Regions from separate parts of the Homo sapiens genome. Here all the other regions are linked to region 7. Evidence: promoter capture Hi-C in 16 types of primary human blood cells and fetal thymus (Javierre and others, 2016). All regions are on one chromosome and are shown on one strand. The core of a region is centred on a gene start or on the middle of the fragment in contact, and the rest is flanking DNA. Distances in the headings are between cores, read along the strand shown.

What was found. Contacts are between HindIII fragments. The CHiCAGO score rates a contact against its expected background, and 5 or more counts as called.
Region 1: a contact is called between a fragment that was not itself captured here and the fragment with the promoter of ARGLU1 in region 7, in 6 of 17 cell types (non-activated CD4 T cells, total B cells, total CD4 T cells and 3 more). The highest score is 12.9, in non-activated CD4 T cells.
Region 2: a contact is called between a fragment that was not itself captured here and the fragment with the promoter of ARGLU1 in region 7, in 10 of 17 cell types (total B cells, naive B cells, naive CD8 T cells and 7 more). The highest score is 26.9, in total B cells.
Region 3: a contact is called between a fragment that was not itself captured here and the fragment with the promoter of ARGLU1 in region 7, in 2 of 17 cell types (total B cells and total CD4 T cells). The highest score is 11.1, in total B cells.
Region 4: a contact is called between a fragment that was not itself captured here and the fragment with the promoter of ARGLU1 in region 7, in 4 of 17 cell types (total CD4 T cells, naive B cells, naive CD8 T cells and 1 more). The highest score is 13.0, in total CD4 T cells.
Region 5: the fragment with the promoter of ING1 here is called in contact with the fragment with the promoter of ARGLU1 in region 7 in 1 of 17 cell types (monocytes); the score reaches 5.2 in monocytes.
Region 6: a fragment that was not itself captured here is called in contact with the fragment with the promoter of ARGLU1 in region 7 in 13 of 17 cell types (naive CD8 T cells, total CD4 T cells, non-activated CD4 T cells and 10 more); the score reaches 26.7 in naive CD8 T cells.

What each region holds. Positions count from the first base shown.
Region 1 is chr13:102,791,793-102,794,607 of GRCh38, forward strand. It overlaps POGLUT2 (protein O-glucosyltransferase 2), which reads right to left. Exons shown (of 10, transcript NM_024089.3): 3 at 1,809-2,014; 4 at 1,549-1,626. Among named protein-coding and RNA genes, the nearest start is that of POGLUT2, 5.8 kb to the right of the region's middle. The HindIII fragment of the contact is 274 bases long and covers 1,416-1,689 here.
Region 2 is chr13:102,619,641-102,622,538 of GRCh38, forward strand. The region is part of intron 5 of TPP2 (tripeptidyl peptidase 2); the gene reads left to right. Among named protein-coding and RNA genes, the nearest start is that of TPP2, 24 kb to the left of the region's middle. The HindIII fragment of the contact is 6,535 bases long and covers 1-2,898 here.
Region 3 is chr13:102,661,911-102,664,833 of GRCh38, forward strand. TPP2 (tripeptidyl peptidase 2) reads left to right here. Exons shown (of 30, transcript NM_001330588.2): 26 at 1,738-1,834; 27 at 2,885-2,923. Among named protein-coding and RNA genes, the nearest start is that of METTL21C, 32 kb to the right of the region's middle. The HindIII fragment of the contact is 4,346 bases long and covers 1-2,923 here.
Region 4 is chr13:102,641,869-102,644,686 of GRCh38, forward strand. It overlaps TPP2 (tripeptidyl peptidase 2), which reads left to right. Exons shown (of 30, transcript NM_001330588.2): 17 at 1,354-1,508; 18 at 2,689-2,805. Among named protein-coding and RNA genes, the nearest start is that of TPP2, 46 kb to the left of the region's middle. The HindIII fragment of the contact is 167 bases long and covers 1,326-1,492 here.
Region 5 is chr13:110,712,242-110,714,949 of GRCh38, forward strand. ING1 (inhibitor of growth family member 1) reads left to right here and starts at 1,459. Exons shown (of 2, transcript NM_198219.3): 1 at 1,459-2,044. The coding sequence starts at 1,909. It also overlaps a transcript of CARS2 not described here. RefSeq lists silencers at 116-455, 129-297, 1,296-1,645, 1,656-1,845, 2,006-2,295 and 2 more and an enhancer at 576-625. The HindIII fragment of the contact is 10,550 bases long and covers 1-2,708 here.
Region 6 is chr13:102,585,875-102,588,574 of GRCh38, forward strand. No RefSeq gene overlaps it. Among named protein-coding and RNA genes, the nearest start is that of TPP2, 9.8 kb to the right of the region's middle. The HindIII fragment of the contact is 4,556 bases long and covers 1-2,700 here.
Region 7 is chr13:106,566,825-106,569,654 of GRCh38, forward strand. It overlaps ARGLU1 (arginine and glutamate rich 1), which reads right to left and starts at 1,313. Exons shown (of 4, transcript NM_018011.4): 1 at 749-1,313. The coding sequence starts at 1,095. RefSeq lists a silencer at 475-774 and enhancers at 669-1,579, 1,255-1,374, 1,385-1,454. The HindIII fragment of the contact is 1,462 bases long and covers 566-2,027 here.

The sequences.
Region 1 (2,815 bases), core at 303-2,802, 3.8 Mb before region 7:
CCAGGTAGGTGGTGGGACCAGGATTTGAACTCAGGAAGCCCAACACCAACAGCAACGTAGTAAGTTTCAAGCTATGCTTCCTTCCTCTACTGGCAAATGGCATGAATATGTAAAGAGGATATGTTTTATCTAGTCACAGAAAATGTTTAGAGTATTTACAAAACAACAGATATACATTTTTAAGGCCAGAAAAGCACTGACCAGTCTGAGAAGCATCTTGAGAAACCGAAGTCCTGAAGAACATTCTCATTTTCCCATGGATTGACAAAGAGGAGCAAGAGAAGTATGACGGTACTCTGATGTCTTAGTTTAAAGGAGGCTTAATATTGATGCTATATAACTACCTACATTCAGAATTAACAGACTGTAAGTGCTTTGAAATCTTGAAAAAAAGGCATTATGATTTTCCATGAGTAGTTTAATCAAGATATACATGCAAATTATTCAACAAATAAATATAATAGATTACAAATAAATATACATTTGGTAAAAATGTTGGTAGAGTCTTTCACATCCACCATTTTAACATTACTTTCAAACCATTCCACTAGAACCCAACAAAAGCCCATTATCCCAAGGAATGGGATTCAGTACAAGGCAAGTCATCTTTGGACTCAGAGTTAGTTTAGTACCAAAATAATTTTATGATAAGGCATTTTTCTTTCCTCTATAAAATATTGTGTCCCTGCAAAAGATATGCTGAAGTCTTAAATCCCAGTGTCTCAGAATGACCTTATTTGGAAATAGGGTTGTTGCAGATATTAGTTAGCATGAGGTCATACTGGAGTAGGCTGGGCCATTAATCCACTATGCTGTGTCCTTATAAGAAGAGACCCAGAGACATGAGGGGAGAAGCCCACGTGATGACAGAGGCAGAGATGGGAGGATGCAGCTGCAAACCAAGGAACACCAAAGATGGAGGGCCACTGACAGCAGCCAGGAAGAGGCAGGAAAGGAAAGGAAAGGATCATCTCAGAGGGAGCTGGCCTCCTGACACTTTAATTTTTTTTGGGGGGGGACAGGATCTCACTCTTGTCACCCAGGCCTTGGGAGTGCAGTGGCGTGATCTCGGCTCATGCAGCCTCGACCTCCTAGGTTCAAGCGATCTTCCTGCCTCAGCTCCCCATTAGCTGAAACTACTACAGGCTAATTTTTGTATTTTTTGTAGAGACAGGTCTTCACCATGTTGCCCAGCCTGGTCTCAAGCTCCTGGGCTCAAGTGATCCACCCGCTTTGACCTCCTAAAGTGCTAGGATTACAGGCGTGAGCCATGGCACCTAGCTGACACTTTGATTTTGGACATCTGGCCTCCATAACTGCCAGAGAATACATTTCTGTTATTTTAAGGCTTCCAGTTTGTAGCACTTTGTTACGGCAGCCCTAGGAAACAAACGCAGGTACCTGAAATAACAGAAAGCTTCAGAATAGTATTATCATAAGGCTCCAGAAGAGAATACCCTGATAGTGTATAATTTGTATTTTGAAAAATTATCCTGTAAAATCTGGGCTTAAATTATCTATTACAGCTAAGAGAAAATATATACTTACCTTTCTAGTCAAAGAAAGTAGTATGGCATCCATGAAAATTCTAAAACCTACATGTTCACCATGAGTCTTGATATAAACCTAAAAGAGAATTTACCATTTATTATGTTAGTCTAAAGACGCTGGCAGACTTCACTGAGGAAAAGCTTGTCACAGTGCTCATTCGAATGATGTTTATAAAATGATTTAGCTAATTGTAGCCAAATGTTCAAAACAAGAAAAAAAATCACTAAAACAAACAAGCAAAAAATCATGTGTTGTACCTTGTTATCCTTTAAGGTGTAGTGACATAGGCTCTGCCTCTGTCCAAATCTTTTTGGGATTTCTACTGCAATCTTTTCTGGATCCACAGCAGGGAAATGTGCCAGATCTCTCTGAATCTGAGCAATGGTTTCAGGGCAGTTCATCTCCCGTAGCCAGGCTGCACTATCTTGCAGAGGACAGTCACAGTTCTCATGGTAAACCGGCCCTATTTACATAAGAATAACAAAGTACAACAGTGATCATTTCACTCAGCATTCGAAACTTGTAATAAACATCTATAATGTGGCTTCATGAATTTTGCTTAGTTACATAGGAAGAGCATTTTCATTGAAAACACATTTTAAGAGAATTACAGGCCAGCAAGGTTGGCTCATGTCGGTAATCCCAGCACTTTGGGAGGCTGAGGCAGGAAGACAGCCTGAGCCCAGGAGTTCGGGAGCAGCCTGGGCAACACAGGGAGACCATGTCTCTACAAAAAATAAAAAATTAGCTGGGTGCGTTGGCATGCACCTGTGGTTTCAGCTACTTGGGAGGCTGACGTGGGAGGATCACTTGAGCCCAGGAGGTTGAAGCTGCAGTGAGCCATGTTTGCGCCACTCCATCCTGGGCAAGACAGTGAGAGCCCGTTTCAAAGAAAAAAAAAGTAATACATTTTTACTATACTGGGGCATTGCAAGTAAGTCAGCCTTCTACTCTGACAGCTCTTCACAGTGAAGTTTTGTGATATTTTCATAATAATAAGGTCTACTTTGCATGAGTTCAAAAGAAAGGAAATAGAGGCTGGGTGCAGTGGCTCACGTCTGTAATACCAGCACTTTGGGAGGCTGAGGTGGGTGGATAACTTGAGGTCAGGAGTTTGAGACCAGCCTGGCCAACATGTTGAAACCCCATCTCTACTAAAAATACAAAAAAGTTTAGCTGGGTATGGTGGTGTGTGCCTGAAATCTCAGCTACTCAGGAGGCTGAGGCATGACAATAGCTTGAATCTGGGAGGTGAAGGTTGCAG
Region 2 (2,898 bases), core at 250-2,749, 3.9 Mb before region 7:
CAGGTACTAACTCATCTTTCATCAAAGGTGTATGCAATGTTAAGTTGAATGAGAAATTTCTGCTCAATTTGGGGATGATGGTGTTAATAAAATAACTGCACATAACTCTTTCAATCTAGATATTAAATATTAATGCACTTTTGTGTGTATTCATACATGTTGTTTTGTTGTGTGCATATGCATACACGTTTTGAAAAATTATTTTCCAGAGGCTTTATACAGAATAATAAACCTTGATACATCCACCATCTGGGGTAACATGATACAGTCACACTCAGTGATAAGCCTTAGGTGCGTTTTAGTGTGGGAAAGGAGGCAAGGTTAAATTCAAGGAAAATGCTAAATACGAAACAGAGTATATTTAGGAAAGTATATACTACAAAAGAACTTAAAGAAATACTAAAATATTAGCAGGGATTGAGTAGTGAGGCAATAGGTGGTTTCATTTAAAGTGTTTGCTCTAGGTTCTGAAAACACTGCAGATTACTTTGTCTTAGGAAAAGGAATCCGGAGTCAGGATGTCCAGGGTACCAGTGTGTGTTTCCACAAGATTTCCTTGGTCTTCAAGGTGCTTGATAAAGTGACTCACTTGTAGCAGTTTGTTGACAACTATTCTAAGGGTTTTGTTTAGAACTTTTGAGTTAGAAATGAAATTTAATCTAACATTAAGTGAAATAAAATCTGAAATCTCAGAATAACATTTTAGAACATTTTATTATAATAAATGAATATAGCATAATTATACTTTCAGGTGGTACTAGATATAATGTAACTTTTTTGCATAATACAGTATATCCTATAGGGCTTTGATCTCAGAGATCCAAAATTTTTTGAAGAGAACCTTGTAGATCCCAGGGTACATAAGGTTAATCCAGTCCTGTCTGCAGATGTTCTCATTTCACATTTCAAAAATGCCAACCATTTCTGAAGGGAGGTAAAGTGACCTATTCTTTAAGTACCGTGGGTTTTTTGTTTTGTTTTGTTTGATGACGAATGTCCAGTCTGTGCTCTCCCTGCCACATTTCTGCTAATTGTTTAGCGCGTATCTCTGCACTTAACGGGTGGCCTCAGATGACTCTGTTCTGAGCATCTGTCAGGACGCAGAGCCTCAGACTCATTGTCACTCCAAATGGAACAAAAACTGGTTGAGAGAAACAGTGTTTACAGAGGATTACATAAAGGAGAAGCTATTAGTTGATTTCTTTACAGTGGATTTTGACCTTGCTTATGTCATGTTTCCTTTTAGATTCTTGATGAAAGCTCTAGATTCTTTCCACAGAAAATTGAGAGATGTGTGAAAATGTCGAGAAATACATAAAACAAAAGCCTTTTCTCTCATCCTCCCCACTTACATGTACCCTGCTCTGTGTATGAGCCTCATTTTGATATCCTTTCTCTGTATTCTAGCTGCTACTTGAATTCAGTCAACTAGACCTTCAGAAAGTTATAACCTTGCACCACATTCATACTTGTCCTCTGTCGTGTTATTTAGAGAAGTCAGTAATAATTTATGTTTTGATGTGTTGGTTGTATTGTTGAGTCATTCCAATGATGGTGGTTATAAGAAACTGACCTGTGGAATGTGTCACTGTATTTGCTGTGAGAATGTTGTTAAGGATGATGATTTCGTTAATTCCTTAATCATGTGGCAGATGTTTATTGAGTACCTTCTTTGTACCAGGTTGACACCATAGAAGCTACTCCATGGACTCTAGATTCCATGGAAGCAAGTGTTGGGAACGTCTGAACCAGTCTAGGAAGAATCGAGAAAGATTTCCCAAAAGTATTAATAACATCTTACATTGAGACTTGAAGGATCATCACAGTAAACTAAGCAGAGAGGTAGAAAGGGTGGGGGAAAGATCCAGAGGATGTTGGAGGAACTGTGAGAAGTTTGGTGTGGCCACAGAGGATATGATGGGAGCAGGAGGTGAGGGAGGTGAGCAGATGATTATTAGGGGCATTGCTCTGGAGTTTCAATGTTAAGAGCCGTTGGAAGACATGGAAGGTTTTCAGCAGGAGTCAAATGTAGGGGCAGAGCAGGCCATCAGCTCATCAGGCAACAGCGGTAAGGAAGAGACAGTGGAAATAGGCGGACACATTATGGAGATGGGACTGTGCGGTTAGATGGGCTGGGGGAAGAACAGAGGGAGGACTTTGTAGATGACTTCCAGGATGGATGCTGGCCGATTGCATAAATTTTGGAGACAAGTGCTACTTCTGTAGCATGTGGAAGATTTGGTGACATGCATTTTACCCACTAATCTCAAGCCTGATTCTGTTTAATATGTGACTTGTTTGCTCTTTGCTTCATTTTCTCCATAAGTGTTTAGTTTCCTATACCTTCGTATATTCTATTATTTGAAATTACATCAGTCATATTAGGGCAATGCATAAAAACAAATTTTTAAGAATCCTTTTTTCCAAAGTGTTGTAATTTGTTAATGAAATATGCTTCAGTATTTATGATAAATCATCTCTCTGTGCTCTACCAGTAGGCTTCTATTAATTTACTTGGCAATTTTGACTGACTTGCATAGCTTGTTAAAATACAGTTCTTGCATTTAAAACATACTTAGAGCTAAAAACATAATATTGAACTTTTAATGATGTTCATTTCATTTATGACTTTTTGAATATTAAGTGTATTTTGTTTTAATCAGGCTATCTTCTAAAGTGTTCGGAATATAATTTAAAAACTATTTTAGTTAGTAAAATGGAAAAAACATGAAGGAAGACAACCATAAAGTAATGTAGAAAATGCCTTCTGTGAGAAATAAATTTAAGTCTGTTATAACTATAGGACTGAAGCTCAGTAAAATTCACCTAGTTTCAAAGAGCTTGTGTAAGCCGTTAGATTCTTGAAGCCATTACTAAAAGAAGCAGCTGGAAGTTAGA
Region 3 (2,923 bases), core at 157-2,656, 3.9 Mb before region 7:
TTCCACTCCCAGGTATATACCCAAGAAAAATAAAAACCTATATTCACACAAAAACATGTTGATGACAGTTTATAGCAGCATTATTCATAATGGCCAAAAGGTGGAATGTCCATCAGCTGATGAATGGACAAACAAAATGTGGTGTATCCATACAGGGGATTCCTTTTCAGCCATGAATGGGATTAATACATGCTCCAACATGAATGCACCTTGAAAATAGTATGTTAAGTGGTAGTAGCCAGTCACAAAAAGACCATGTATTATATGATTCTATTCATATTAAATGTCCAGAATGAGGAAATCTATAGAGATAGAAAGTAGATTAGTGGTTGCTTAGTGCTGGGGAGGCTGGGGAGATCTGATAGCAAAAGGGTATGGCGGTTTCTTTTTGTATTGATGAAAAATGTTTTAAAGTTGACTGTTGTGATAGTTACATATATCTGTTACTATGCTAGAAAGCATTGAAATTCACACTTAAAATGGGAAAATTGTATGGAGAAAAAATTGAAAAGGTTGTTTACCTAATAGGTGTTTTAGAAGAAAACAGCAAAAAATTATTAGCATTCCCTAGCAAAACTTTAAAAACCTTAGAACATTTTTTGGAAAAAAAAATTTATAATTAAGGTGCAGTAGTTTTAAAATGTAAAACGAAAGTGTTGATTTTGCCCTTGGATAATTGTTAGCGAAAAGAGAAAAACAGGACTTAATTTTTTTTGTACTAAGAATTAGTGTAAATTTTGTTGTCTACAAGTTAAATTTATTTTCATAGAAAGTTAGTTATAGTATCAAAATCCCGGTCAACCTTATTTTTATACTACTGTGCAGTTTTGTTAATATATTAAGTGACTTTAATGTAAGTTACCCACTTCTGGTGCTAGTTTGTATGTTAATTTGTTTTTATCCTGATACATATAATCAGGTAGAATTGGGAATTTTATTCAGCCTCCGCGTCGGGGAACATAGAATAACTCTTTATTGACTCAAGACTGGAATTTTCAGAAAAGTTTAAATTTTTATTTTTTCTAGAATTTTCAGAAAAGTTTAATAGATCTGAGACATTTTTAAATCTTTTAATCTTTCTAGCTATTTGTGAATATGCTTTTCTTCCTTTTAAATAAATATAATAGCTGGTATGTAAGAAAGCTATTGATGCATATTTTTATTTGGATATCTTATTGAACTCTTAATTGGAATAATTTTCAGTTTGATTTATTTATTTATTTTTTTTAATTAATTAATTAATTTATTTATTTTTTGAGATGGAGTCTCACTCTGTCACCCGGCTGGAGTGCAGTGGTTTGATCTCGGCTCACTGCAACCTCTGCCTCCCAGGTTCAAGTGATTCTCCTGCCTCAGCCTCCCGAGTATCTGGGACTACAGGCATGTGCCACCACCCCCAGCTAATTTTTGTAGTTTTAGTAGAGACGGGGTTTCACCATGTTGGCCAGGATGGTCTTGATCTCTTGCCCTTGTGATCCGCCTGCCTTGGCCTCCCAAAGTGCTGGGATTACAGGGGTGAGCCACCATGCCCAGCCCAGTTTGATTTATTTTTGTTTTCTAGTTAACCATTTATACTACTTGCCAATAATGATAATCCTTGTCAATGACTATACTTGTATTTCAAATTAATGTCTTATTTTATTGGCTTAAACTTCCAAACAATGTTAAATAATAGAGAAGACAAATAGTCTTTTTAAAAGAAAAAAGTAAATATTTCTCTCCTTCTTACATACATAGGCTGGATTCTAGTGACATTTATAACGAATTGAAAGAAACATATCCTAATTATCTTCCTCTGTACGTTGCACGACTTCATCAATTGGATGCTGAAAAGGTTAGACATGTTCATTCTGATATATCTTATTTTGTTTGTAATTATATAAGTTTGTGTTTTGAGGAAAAGTGCATTATCTTTCTCTTCTGTTCTTGCTAACTAAAACATGTTTTCTCAAATTGAATGTTGTGTTAAGCTGTTTTCATGAAGGTTATTATAAGACCTAGCCACTACTGTGAGTTTAGTTTAGGATTCTTGCTCATGCTTGGTCAATGAGATTAGTAATAGAGAAGATACCTTAACGATTGTTTTCATGACCTTAACCTAAAGGGCAAGGGGCAGAACGTAGTAATCCTGGCCAGATGGAAATCTGAACGCCTTCACTGAAAGAATTCCTACTTTGCATTAACTTTGTTAATGATTCTCATTTGTGAGAGTTGGCCATAGTTCTAGTCTGTCATGACATGGACCAGTTCTCATTATTCATCAAAGCAGTGGGAAAGTGCTGTCCTAATCAGTTGAAAATCATCAAGGGTTTAGAGTGAACCAGAGGGTATTTAAAGGAGATTTCTTAAAAGACTTTAACAAGAGAGAAGCAAATTGTTGGGAACATCATGGTAATCACAGTTAGACTGTTGATTATAATGTTTACTCTCATCTTTGTGTTTTTCATGATGGATCAGAAAGAAATGGTTTCATCAGCTAGGGCTTTCTTTTTTTTTCCTGTGTTCAGGTAGTGTGCAACTAGAGTAATGACAATAGCCAATCACATTTCTAGAATCTTAAGAAATACAGAAAAGGAGTTACCTTTGTTAAAAAAAAAACTTTACATTTTTATGAAGTTTATATTTTGCTTACTCTCACCATTGTACTCCAGCAGGGAATGTAAATAAGGTATTTTTATTATGCATCTGAGCTCAAGTTTTATAGAGATACCAGCAATTAGAAAAATCACAGTAGGAGATAGCAGGGAGCCCCTGGGCTACAAGTCAATTACATAGTTTACTCACACTGCAGTTGTAGGTCTCATGGTTGAGACAGCAGAAGTGAAATTGCTTTCGTATACTGATTGATATACCTATTTTTTATTATTTCTTTTTTCCTCTCCAGGAACGAATGAAAAGACTTAATGAAATTGTTGATGCGGCA
Region 4 (2,818 bases), core at 159-2,658, 3.9 Mb before region 7:
TGTGCCAGGCCCTTTTCAGTGGGCTAAGGTGGTGAGCTACTTAGACAAGGACCCTGCTTCCAGAGGCCTTGAGAGCATCTAGTCCAAGATATTGCAGTTAAGAGAACTGGATTAGAGGGAGGCAGCACAGAGTAGCGGCAAGGCCACGGGCTTTGGAAATTGAGAAGTCTGGGTTTGGATCCACACTCTGCCATACGCTAATGGTTACCTGGGGGCAGGTTTCTAAATTTTCTGGACTTCTGTTTCAACTGTAAATATAGTCGTTAGTCTGTTGTAAGGATTAGGGATTTTATAGTACTTGGTACATAGCTTGTCTTCGTTGGGATTACGCTCACACTTGACAGTACTTCTAGAGGGTGGAGTCAGAGTTGCTGTGTTCAGCATTCCTGGGGTCCCATTCTCATAGGGCCCCTGGGACTTGTAGAGCTCCAGGCTCTGGTAAAATGTGCACTGGTAAATTAAAGAATACAAATCTATGGTTAATTAATACTGAATTGGGTACTTGTTTAGTGATAAATGGCACTGATTTATGATTGGTTTAGGTTGGTATTGAAAATAATTTGTTTTTTTAAATAAAAATTATCAAATGATCTAGAATGCAAGTAGTTAAGAGAATTTAACAGTCTTAGTTTTATTTCAAATAATTAGAAATATTGTCATAACACTAGATTTTGTATTCTTAGCAACTGACTAGGTTCTGAGAGCTCTCTGCACACCTGGTTTTATGAGCCACGGCATTGCGCCTTGCTTCAGTTCCCTTGAATTAGCTTGGGTGTTCTTTAGAAAAGCTGCCAATCTGGCATTGCGGTGATCTTGGCTTACCTCCAGCGCTGGCTCAGAGTAAAGTTAAGCATAAGTAGTCGTGCCAGGCTTTGTAGACGCACACAGTACACAAGTAGACCAAGAAGAGAGATTAGGAAAAGTTATCAATGAGGAATTGAGGCATGATAACAAATAGAGGTTTCCAAAAATATAACCTTCCTTACTTTATCTGGAATTGACTGGTTTTCAGCTAAAACAAGGAGGGATTTTAAAAGGTACCCGATTAATGTAATTGTGTATGCATCTATGGACAGCTTGCTGTTTCCAGGTGTTTGCAGCCTCATGGTGGTGGTTCATTTTAATACCAGTTTCTTTCGTTCCCATAGAAAATCTTCTAGTCTTCTACCTTTATTAATATTTTGTTGATTCTTTGTTTTTATGGAAATATGCAGATTTGAGTGTACATTTTATTTTTGATCCCTATTATGTCCCTACATGGGAATTATCCCTAAGTGGGCATTATTAAAGCCACTTTATGTCAATTTTAGGTCTTATAAGTTTAAAGCTTTGCTTCTTTCTTTCTTATTTTAGAAGTGACAGTGTGTTCGTGTTCTTCTGAGGTGTCAGCAAAGTTTGTTCTACATGCAGTCCAGCTTGTGAAGCAAAGAGCATATCGAAGCCATGAATTCTATAAGTTTTGTTCTCTTCCAGAGAAAGGAACACTGACTGAAGCTTTTCCTGTCCTAGTAAGTTTAATTATAGTTTATAATCCTAACACAATTTATTTGCCTTTTTGGTATGGGCTAAGACTAAGTATTTGCATTTGATTTTATAGTTTGTATTTAGCATGTTGGGATTATATATTTTTTTAATGCCAAAAAAATGAAGTAGAAAAATAGAAAATCTAATCAGGGTACTTGAAATCAAGTTGGAGGTAATTATGGCTGTAATTCTTGAATAGCATAGTCAAAGAAACATACTAGTCTGGTAGATTCTCGTGCCTTGTAGTTAGGACCCTGATTTAGATTATTCTTTGTTGTACTATAGATTAATTTCTTTAAGACCTGTTTGCTTGTCACTTAACTTATTTTACTAATGCTGTGTTGTTAAGCTATGAGGCTAATTTGCATTATAGGAAAACTGCTACTGCTTCATGTCTAAGTTATCTCAGATGATGGCAGACTGCATTCTTATCTGTGGTGTTGGAAATGATGACTAGTCTTTCTTCCATAGAAGGTGAAAGTACTGATGTTCTTCCTTCAATGCGCTCCTTTGTGTTTTCAGTTGGTTCTGGGATTTTCCCAGTATCTCTTGGTTTCTGGTTACTTTCATTTGTGTTCTTCCATGGATCAGTGTTGCTTCATCTTTTTAAACTTTTAAATCACTGATTACTAGAAAACTTACTTTAAAACTCAGTGCTAAGAGCAGGTGTTTTTTTTTCCTTTTCCTTATCTTTATTTTTTAATAGGGAGAAAGATGTAAATGACCATAATGTCATTTTGTTTTGGTTGCCAGGTAGCTGTGAGCCCAAACTCAATTGTGCCTATTGAGTATGCCTTACAAAGTTGAAGTATCTTTATTGTGTCGTTATACTTGATTATTTTTCTTTTGGTCCTAATTTTTTATTTCACTTCGAAATAATAAAATCACATTTGCTTTATTATATGTGCTTTCAGAAGCTGCCTAGGATCTTTTATGACAAGAAGCATAGGGTTATGAGTAAATAACTATGTATATTTAAATACACCATATCTCTGCAAATGATTTGTCTAACTCTTACTTAGCATAGCTGTTAAAATTTTTGAGTTTTCTTGCTACAAACAGGAAAAGTTTGAAAACAGAATTGCTCTGAAACAGCTAGTATTTATATTCTGTAATTTGAGAAAAATAAGAAAAGAGATATATTTTATTTACTTTTATTTGCAGGGTGGAAAAGCAATTGAATTTTGCATTGCTCGTTGGTGGGCAAGTCTCAGTGATGTCAACATTGATTATACCATTTCTTTCCATGGGATAGTGTGTACTGCTCCTCAGTTAAACATTGTAAGTTCCACAA
Region 5 (2,708 bases), core at 209-2,708, 4.1 Mb after region 7:
GGAAAAGAGAAAGTCCAGTGAGAAAGGTGAAAACTGACAAGGCACCGTTCTCCGACTTGCTGAAAAAAAGACAATGCAAATAGAGCAGGGTCCAAGGCGGAAGAAAATCAGAGAAAAGCAGGCAGCCAAGCGTGGCGAACACAGCTCTCGGGGCCACCCCGGAGGGGACCCGCGGCGGCCGCAGCGGGGCGGAGGCCGAAGCCGAGGCCGCCCCGGAACCAGAGAGCCAGGCGGGAAGTGCACAAAGGCACGAGGCCACGCCCAGGAGGGGCGGGCCCTTTGGCCGGAAGGGGGGGGGCCGGCGCGCGGGGCCGGTCGCCTAGGCAACGGGCTCGCGTGGCGTCCAGGCTTCTCAGAAAGCCCAAAATCCGGGAGCTTTGGGAGGGTAGAGGGGCGACGCGGGGGAGGGCGGTCCGGGGAGCTGAATGGCCTCAGGACGCCGGCCGACCGGGTGTCTGCATACTGTGGGCGGCCTTTCCAAGTGTGGGGAGCGGCCTCCGAGAACGGTGTCCATGACACAGGGCGGGAAGAGATAAGGCCTAGGGAAGGCGCCCCTCGGGCCTATCCACCTCTTCTGGGGCTCGGCACTAGGAAGCAGCTTCCCTCTCAGGCCCCTTTGTCTCCAAGCCGTTCCAAACTGAGTACCGGGAGACGACACAAAGGGAGGGCGGTGACGGATGGCGCAGGCGCGGGAGCCGCCTAGGCTGCTGGGAGTGGTGGTCCGGCCGCGGAATGGGTAGGTCTCCCGCGCACTCTGCGGCCGCAGCTCAAAGGACACCGAGAGGGTGCCAGTGCGCATGCGCCGCCACTTCCGCCCGTGCCCGGCCCTCCCCTTCCTTCCGCCTCCCGGAGGACTTGGGTTTCTAGTAGTAAGAGTCCGGGGGGCATTACTCACGGTCTCCCCGCCTCCTCTTCATCGTGATTGGGCTGTCAAAGTGATGTTGGCAAGTAGATTGGCTACTGCGGTTGCCAGTTCTGTTTCGGGCCCTACTTATACTGCTCTGTGGGGCGGGGACGAAGAGTCAGGGGCTGAGGAGCGAGTTGCGGTAGTTGCTGTGTACCATGGTCTCGGAGGTTTCTGTCCCGCGGCCCGTTAGGTCCTGGTCGGGTTTTCAGCGAAGCAGGCCGCTCCCCTGCGTTTCCCAGCGGGCGTGCTGTGCCGCCCAACAGGCTCTGCCTCCAAGTGCCAAAAACTCCTAGTAAAGTTTGCGCCTCGCCCGCCGTCCACACCCCAGCGGCCCTGACGCTGTCCCCTCCGCGACCCTCGCCTCTGGAAAAAGTGACAGGCAAGGCCACGCCCCCGCGAGGGCCGGCCTGGAGCCCGCAGCCCCCAGGGCCTGGGACGGTGAGGGGCGTGAATGCGGCGGGGGGCGGGGCCGTTGCCGGGGGAGGGGGCCGGGGCGCATGCGCGCTGCGCAGCGGGGCTGAATGTTTCCCAAGTGTTTGAAACTGGTATTTGGGTTTTCCACGTTGGACAAGTGCGGCTCGGCGGCCAGCGGAGCGCGCCCCTTCCCGCTGCCCGCTCCGCTCCTCTCTTCTACCCAGCCCAGTGGGCGAGTGGGCAGCGGCGGCCGCGGCGCTGGGCCCTCTCCCGCCGGTGTGTGCGCGCTCGTACGCGCGGCCCCCGGCGCCAGCCCCGCCGCCTGAGAGGGGGCCTGCGCCGCCGGCCGGGGCGTGCGCCCGGGAGCCACCGCCACCGCGGCCCGCGCCCTCAGGCGCTGGGGTCCCCGCGGACCCGGAGGCGGCGGACGGGCTCGGCAGATGTAGCCGCCGGGCCGAAGCAGGAGCCGGCGGGGGGGCGCCGGGAGAGCGAGGGCTTTGCATTTTGCAGTGCTATTTTTTGAGGGGGGCGGGGGGTGGAGGAAGCGGAAAGCCGCGCCGAGTCGCCGGGGACCTCCGGGGTGAACCATGTTGAGTCCTGCCAACGGGGAGCAGCTCCACCTGGTGAACTATGTGGAGGACTACCTGGACTCCATCGAGTCCCTGCCTTTCGACTTGCAGAGAAATGTCTCGCTGATGCGGGAGATCGACGCGAAATACCAAGGTACGGCCGGGTGATGGATGGGCGGGGGCGGCCGCCTCCTTCCCGGCGGGTCCGGGCGCGCCGCGGAGCCGGGCCGGTCCTGCCGTGGACCGGAGGAAGCGGCCGGCTCCGCAGCGGCGGCCCTCGGCAGGGGCAGGAACAAAAGGTCTGGAGCGCCTTTGATTCGCCAAGGTCCTTGTGTGCAAAGCCCGGGACACGGAGGAGGAAGGAGGCGCGAGAGGTCTCGCTGCAAGGCTGCGCGACCAAAGCGCTCTTTGTAGTGAAGTGATGAGGCGGGTGCTGCGGGGGAGGGGGCGGCGGGTCCAAGCCGCGTCCTCTAGGAGGGGGTGCAGATTACGGCGCGAGATGGAGGGATGTGCCGGCGCCTGGGGCTATAGGGCGCCGAGACGGGGCTGCAGGAGGAGGGCGGCTGTGGGCCGGGGTTCCCGCGGACCCGGTGCCTCGGTCCCGGGCAACGCCGTTCCTCTGGCCCTTCTTCGTCGCCCCCCACTCAGTCCCGAATCTGAGTGTTACATAAAGTACCGGGTAGTACTCCGCTCGGGGTAGGTCGGCCGCCCCCGCCCAGCCCCCTCCGGCCCTCACTTGGAGCTGGACACCGAGTAGGGGCCGACTGCGAGGGGCGACGCCGCCGGTTGTAGTTTGCGGAGGACGAGGGCTTTTCTCT
Region 6 (2,700 bases), core at 66-2,565, 4.0 Mb before region 7:
CTGTCCATAAAATATTTGACAAATTATAAAGTAAATTTTGATGATTTACCTCAAGAAAACAAGGTCCCTTTACTGTATGGCTAAGCTGATTTTTAAAAACATTTCTTGCAAACTAAGAAGTCCTCTTTTAAAAAAATTGTGTACTTTAGTAAGTCTTAACTTGAGGTGGTGTAAATCTGACCAGTTTTGGTTTTGTTTATTGAGTCTCTACTACATACAGTCACATTTTACTAATAGCAAATAGCAAATAGTTATTAGCACTGTGGAAGCTATTTTTTCTCATGTAACTTTTTTTTTTTTTGAGAGAGAGAGAGAGAATCTTGCTCTGTCGCCCAGGCTGGAGTGCAGTGGCATGATCTCTGCCCACTGCAACCTCCGCCTCTCGGACCCAAGCAATTCTCATGCCTCAATTTCCCGAGTAGCTGGGATTACACGTGTGCACCACCACATCCATTTTTGTATTTTTAGTAGAGACGGGTTTCACCATATTGGCCAGGCTGGTCTTGAACCCCTGGCCTCAAGTGATCCACCTGCCTCAGCCTCCCAAAGTGCTGGGATTACAGGTATGAGCCACCAAGCCCGGCCTCATTTATACTCATATAACTTCCAAATTGATGATAGAGGAAGCAGAGGCCTTGCTAAAGGTCAGGTAGCTAATTAGTGGCAGACCTAGACCTAGAAGACAAAACCCTTTATCTGCTGCCCAGATGCTTTTGCTACCATATTGTTGGCTTCTCTTGTTCACTTCAGGATGTTCGGTATCATCATTGAGATTCGCCTTTAACTGGAATCTTAAACCTGGCAAGTTTTTCTGACATTCCAAATGTGGGCAGATGGACAGGTTTTATGAAGTCCCACGCAGGTGCCACAATTGACAACAGCCCCAGTTAGGCAGGTCCAGGCATGAGCCTATCCAGTGAAGCACCACAGGGCAGGAACTACACCTTGGACAATGGCTTGTCTGATTTAATACATGTCTGCCATCCTCATGGTGATTTATTGTCATGGAATTCAGTGAGAGAATGTTTTTGCTGATTAATATACATCAGGAATTGAGGTGAAACAAAGTAAGTACTATATGCCCTGTTCTAGCAGAAGCTGCTTTAAGTAAGGGAAAATTCCATATGATGTCAAATAAAAGTGTCAAATTTAAGGATACAAAGGAATCACCTGTCAACCCAAAAGCAGAAGCTGATTGGATCAGAAGCTCACTGTAAGCCCCCATCACACACTACATACCCATTTGCTTCTTCTCTGCCTCGGGTCAGGACTCTACTCCTGGTCTATCGTCTGTGGCCAGAAGGTAAGTGGGTTACATTCTTCCGGCCCACTTAGCAGGGACTGTGGGTTGAATGCCTCTAAGGATGGGAGTGGAACTTATATAAGCCATATACAGACATCTGACTTTGTCAGAACTAAAGTAAATGATGACCTTTATTACCCAAAAGGCTTATGTTTTGGAAACAACTGTACTTGCAAGAAAGGACCCATTTCCAGCTTCTCAAGAGATTTAAAAACAAACACATGGAGTTAAATAAACTGATATATCCAAACAAATTAATAGTACGCCTAATTAACAAGAAAGAATAAAATTCTACGTACGAATATTCATCAGGAAATATTGTGAAGCAAAAAACAAAGAAAAAAATAAAGTGCAGGACAGTGAGTATAGTATACTACAATTTGTGTAAAAAAGGAAAGAGGAAATATATGCATCATATTCTTTGTATGCATACGACATTTCTGGAAGGATACACAATTTAAGTCTAGAGAATTTTACACTCTTCAAGCTGCAATGTTTCTTGGGCATTCCTTTCTCTCTGTGATACTACAACACATAATGTTATCCTGTTTTTGTATTATTCTTTTTTTCTCACTCCTAAGAACACCAAGTAATAGAGTTAGAGAGACTATGCAATCAGTAATTACCAAATAGTGTAAACATTTGATATTAAAATAAATTGGGCAAATGCACAAAGATTTGAGAACCTATTCTGAGTTAGAAGCAGTGTGAGACATCACTGGGTATGGTAGAACACAATTCTTTGGCCAGGGAGGACATAGTGTAGTTCAACCACCATTTCTGAAGCACTCAAGTGCTAGGTGGTACACAGTTAGGAAGATAGGACTCTCAGATGACCTGGGGTAGTTTCTTCTATCCAGGGGGTTATCCATGAGTAGAGGCCTCCTACTGTCTGTCTAGCAGTTCACACAAGGTTACTAACCATGGGGGGGGGCACTTCCTGTTGTAGATGATGCAGGACATGAGAGCACCAAAACTGGGAGGATTCTTGGCTTCCCTCAGGAAACAATTCAAGGGCAAGCCAGTCGTGTTAGCAACCTTTTACTGAACAGCACTGCTCCTTGCAGTGCACCCAGAGTGAGCAGCATATGGGCTCTTCGCAACTGGGTTTATACTCACTTATACCCACTTACAATTGCATGCAAATTAAGGGGTGGGTTAATGCAAACTGAGGGTTGGGTTATTTAGAACTTTTTAGGGAAGGGGAGGTAACTTCCAGGTAGTTGCCACGGAAAAAGGTGTAGCTTTTGGGTTGCTGCCATGGCATTTGAGAACTGTCACGGCACTGGTGGGACTGTTTTATGTCAATGAGCAATGAGGGCAGCGAGGGATCACTGTTGTCACCATCTGCTGGTTCCTACGGTTTCTTCACCTCATTCATTGGCACCAGGAAATAA
Region 7 (2,830 bases), core at 63-2,562:
TTGCTACAGGAATAGAAAGCAAGTTAAAAAAGCGGTAGGCTTTGGGATGGTGATTACACAGGTGAATTCAAAGGTCAAAAAACTCATCGCACTGTACACTTAAGGTCTATGCTTTTTTTTTTTAACATCTCAAGGAAGGGGTGAGGGTGTAGGCTCAAGGGGAAAAAAGCAATCCCAACACCTTAACAACAGGAATACACTAAAGTGAAAATGCATTTTTCTGGCGGACCACCTAAAGTGTATGATTCCCGAGATTAGTTAAGTCCTGTCCCAAATTTGAGCTTCAATAGAATGCTTCTGGCCAGCTGTGATTCGCATCTCAAAGGTTAATTCCCTTCTCTCTCCTCCTCAAGCCGACCAGCAAACGCTCACCACCCTCCACATCTGCAGGCCGGCTCGCTCCCGGCCTCACAAGCCAACGCAGCTCTCCGACCTCACTCCGAACTCCACCCCTACTTCCGGGACACCACTCCTCTCTCGCGCCAAAATCGCCTTCTCTTAAACCCTTTCTGCTCAAGCCCTCGAATTTTCCATCCCGAACAACTTCTGGGTCTGTCCCACCCCAAGCTTTCCAAACGCCAAGCCTGCCCGCCCCGCCGCCGCCTCTCCGACCCGTTCCCGCGCCCGGTCCCCAGCCCCGGACCGTCCCCGCCATTCTCCCGGCCCGCACCGTCCCGCCCCGGCCCCACGCCCTCGCCCCGCGCCCTGCTCTCCGCACGCCCCGGTCCCTCCCCGCGCGGGCACTCACATTTTTCGCTGCCGCTCGAACTCCGCTTTCTTCTCCTCCTCCTCTCGCTTCTGCTTCTCGTCCAGGCTGCTGCGCTTGCTCACCGTGCGCCCGAAGATGTCGATGCGGTCGGGCGGGGACGAGGCGCGCTCCCGGTCCCGCTCGCGCCGGGACACGGCCGTGTTGGTGGAGCGCGAACGGGACCGCGACTCCCGCCGCCGGTTCCGTTTACTTTCCCGAGATTTGGAACGCTTCCGCACGCGCTCCTTGTCCCGGGATCGCGACCGGGACCGGCTGCGCTTCTTGTTGTGCTTGCTGCTCTTGGTGTGCTTGGAGCGGGACGAGCTCCGGCTCCGAGACCGGCCCATCCTTCCGGGAGACGCTCTAACCGCTCGCCTCAGGCCCCTCACGCGGCCAGTTCCCCTCGCCTCCGCCTTCGGACGCGGGCTGGCGGTTCTACCGAGGCCGGAGGAAAGAAAGGTGTCGGCCAACGGACTTTATGCCTTTTCCCGGCGTCTACAGCTGCCACGAAGGCCGCCTCCAACGAGAAACCCGTAGCGCCAGGCGCCCCTAAGATGGCAGCTGCGGCTGCACCGGCCGCCCTTCCCACAATGCCCTGCGCGAAACGTGCCGAAGCGTGGGCCCCGCCTCCTGACGATTTTTGCCGAAGGCAGGCGAGCGCTTCGGAGCGGACTCGTTTTTTTCCGCCAGTCTTGGCGGAAGCCTGAGACGCAATAGATGGAGACTCTCCTTTTCGCCTTGGCGTACTCTTTTTTTTTTTTTCCTCCCTGGTAAGATGCCAACGCCTGTTGAATGAATTAAGCACGTTTTAGTGGGATTTAAGTCCGGCCTCGCAGAAGTTGATTGATTGCATTATTTTCTAGGAGCTGGTCTTGTGGGGCAGCCCTAAAATGTATCTCCAAGTGACCCTGCACTCATCACTTGCTGCCTTGGACTTAGTTTCCTCATTCGTAGAATGGAGACACCACACTTTCTGAAGTGCTTATGAGACTTGCAGGAGGTAAGTAGGCAGCAGGTTTTGATGAATGTAACCTAATGCTTACTATAGGGCTTAATGTGCCTTCTAAATGCTTTAATGTATTAACAAGTGCTTAATTCTTACAATTCTGAATTAAGTACTACTATTATCCACGTTTCAGAGATGAGGACCCTGAGGTCCACAGAGGTTAAATAAGGGTCACACAACCAGTAGGTGACAGAGCAGGGACGTGAACCTAGATCATATTGTGCAAAGCCCTTGCACATAACCAGCAAGCCCTCCTCAACCCTAGCCACGAAAAGCTTCGTCCCTATGTGGCACAACAAACTGTGTCATTGTTAAGACCTAAAAGGAAAAGGCAATGTTAATATTTGCAGATGACAGGAACCCTTGAAAATCTAGGTGCCTCAATTTTAAAATTGAGTGCAATAATAAAGCTTAAGTAAGTAGAAGAAAAATTAGAATTATTTGAATAAGCAAAAACATATTAAAAATGAAATAATATTTCCTCCACAATGGCAACAGAAACCATAAAATACTTAGGGATAAACTTTAACAAGTTACACAATCTTTATTATAAACCTTTACTGAAAAGGCAGTAATAAGGCCCTAGTAAATGTAAAACATGCTGTATTCTTAGGTGAGTAGTCAGTATCAAAAATACTGTCAATTCTTCCCAAGTCAAATTACAAAATTAGTGCAATTCTCATGAGAGTCCCAAATTCTCTTGGGGATATGTGTTTTAGAACTAATTAATTTTAAGTTTTATATGGAAGATCACATAATTAATTATCAAGAAAACTTGGAAACAAAGAAGAGTAGTGTATTAGTCTGTGTTGACTGCTGTAACAAAATATCATAAACTAGGCAGCTTATGAACAACAAATTTATTTCTCACAGTTCTGAAAGTTGGAAATCCAGGATCCAGGTGCTAGCCAATCTGGTCGCTGGTGAGGACCCAGAGATTCACAGATGACTCACAGAAGGCACCTACTCACAGTGCCCTCACATGATAGAAGGGGAAAGCTAGCTCTCTGAGCTCTCTTTTAGTGGCACTTCTAGGGTCTGAAAGTTTGTGTTCCCTCAGATTCATATGTTGAAAC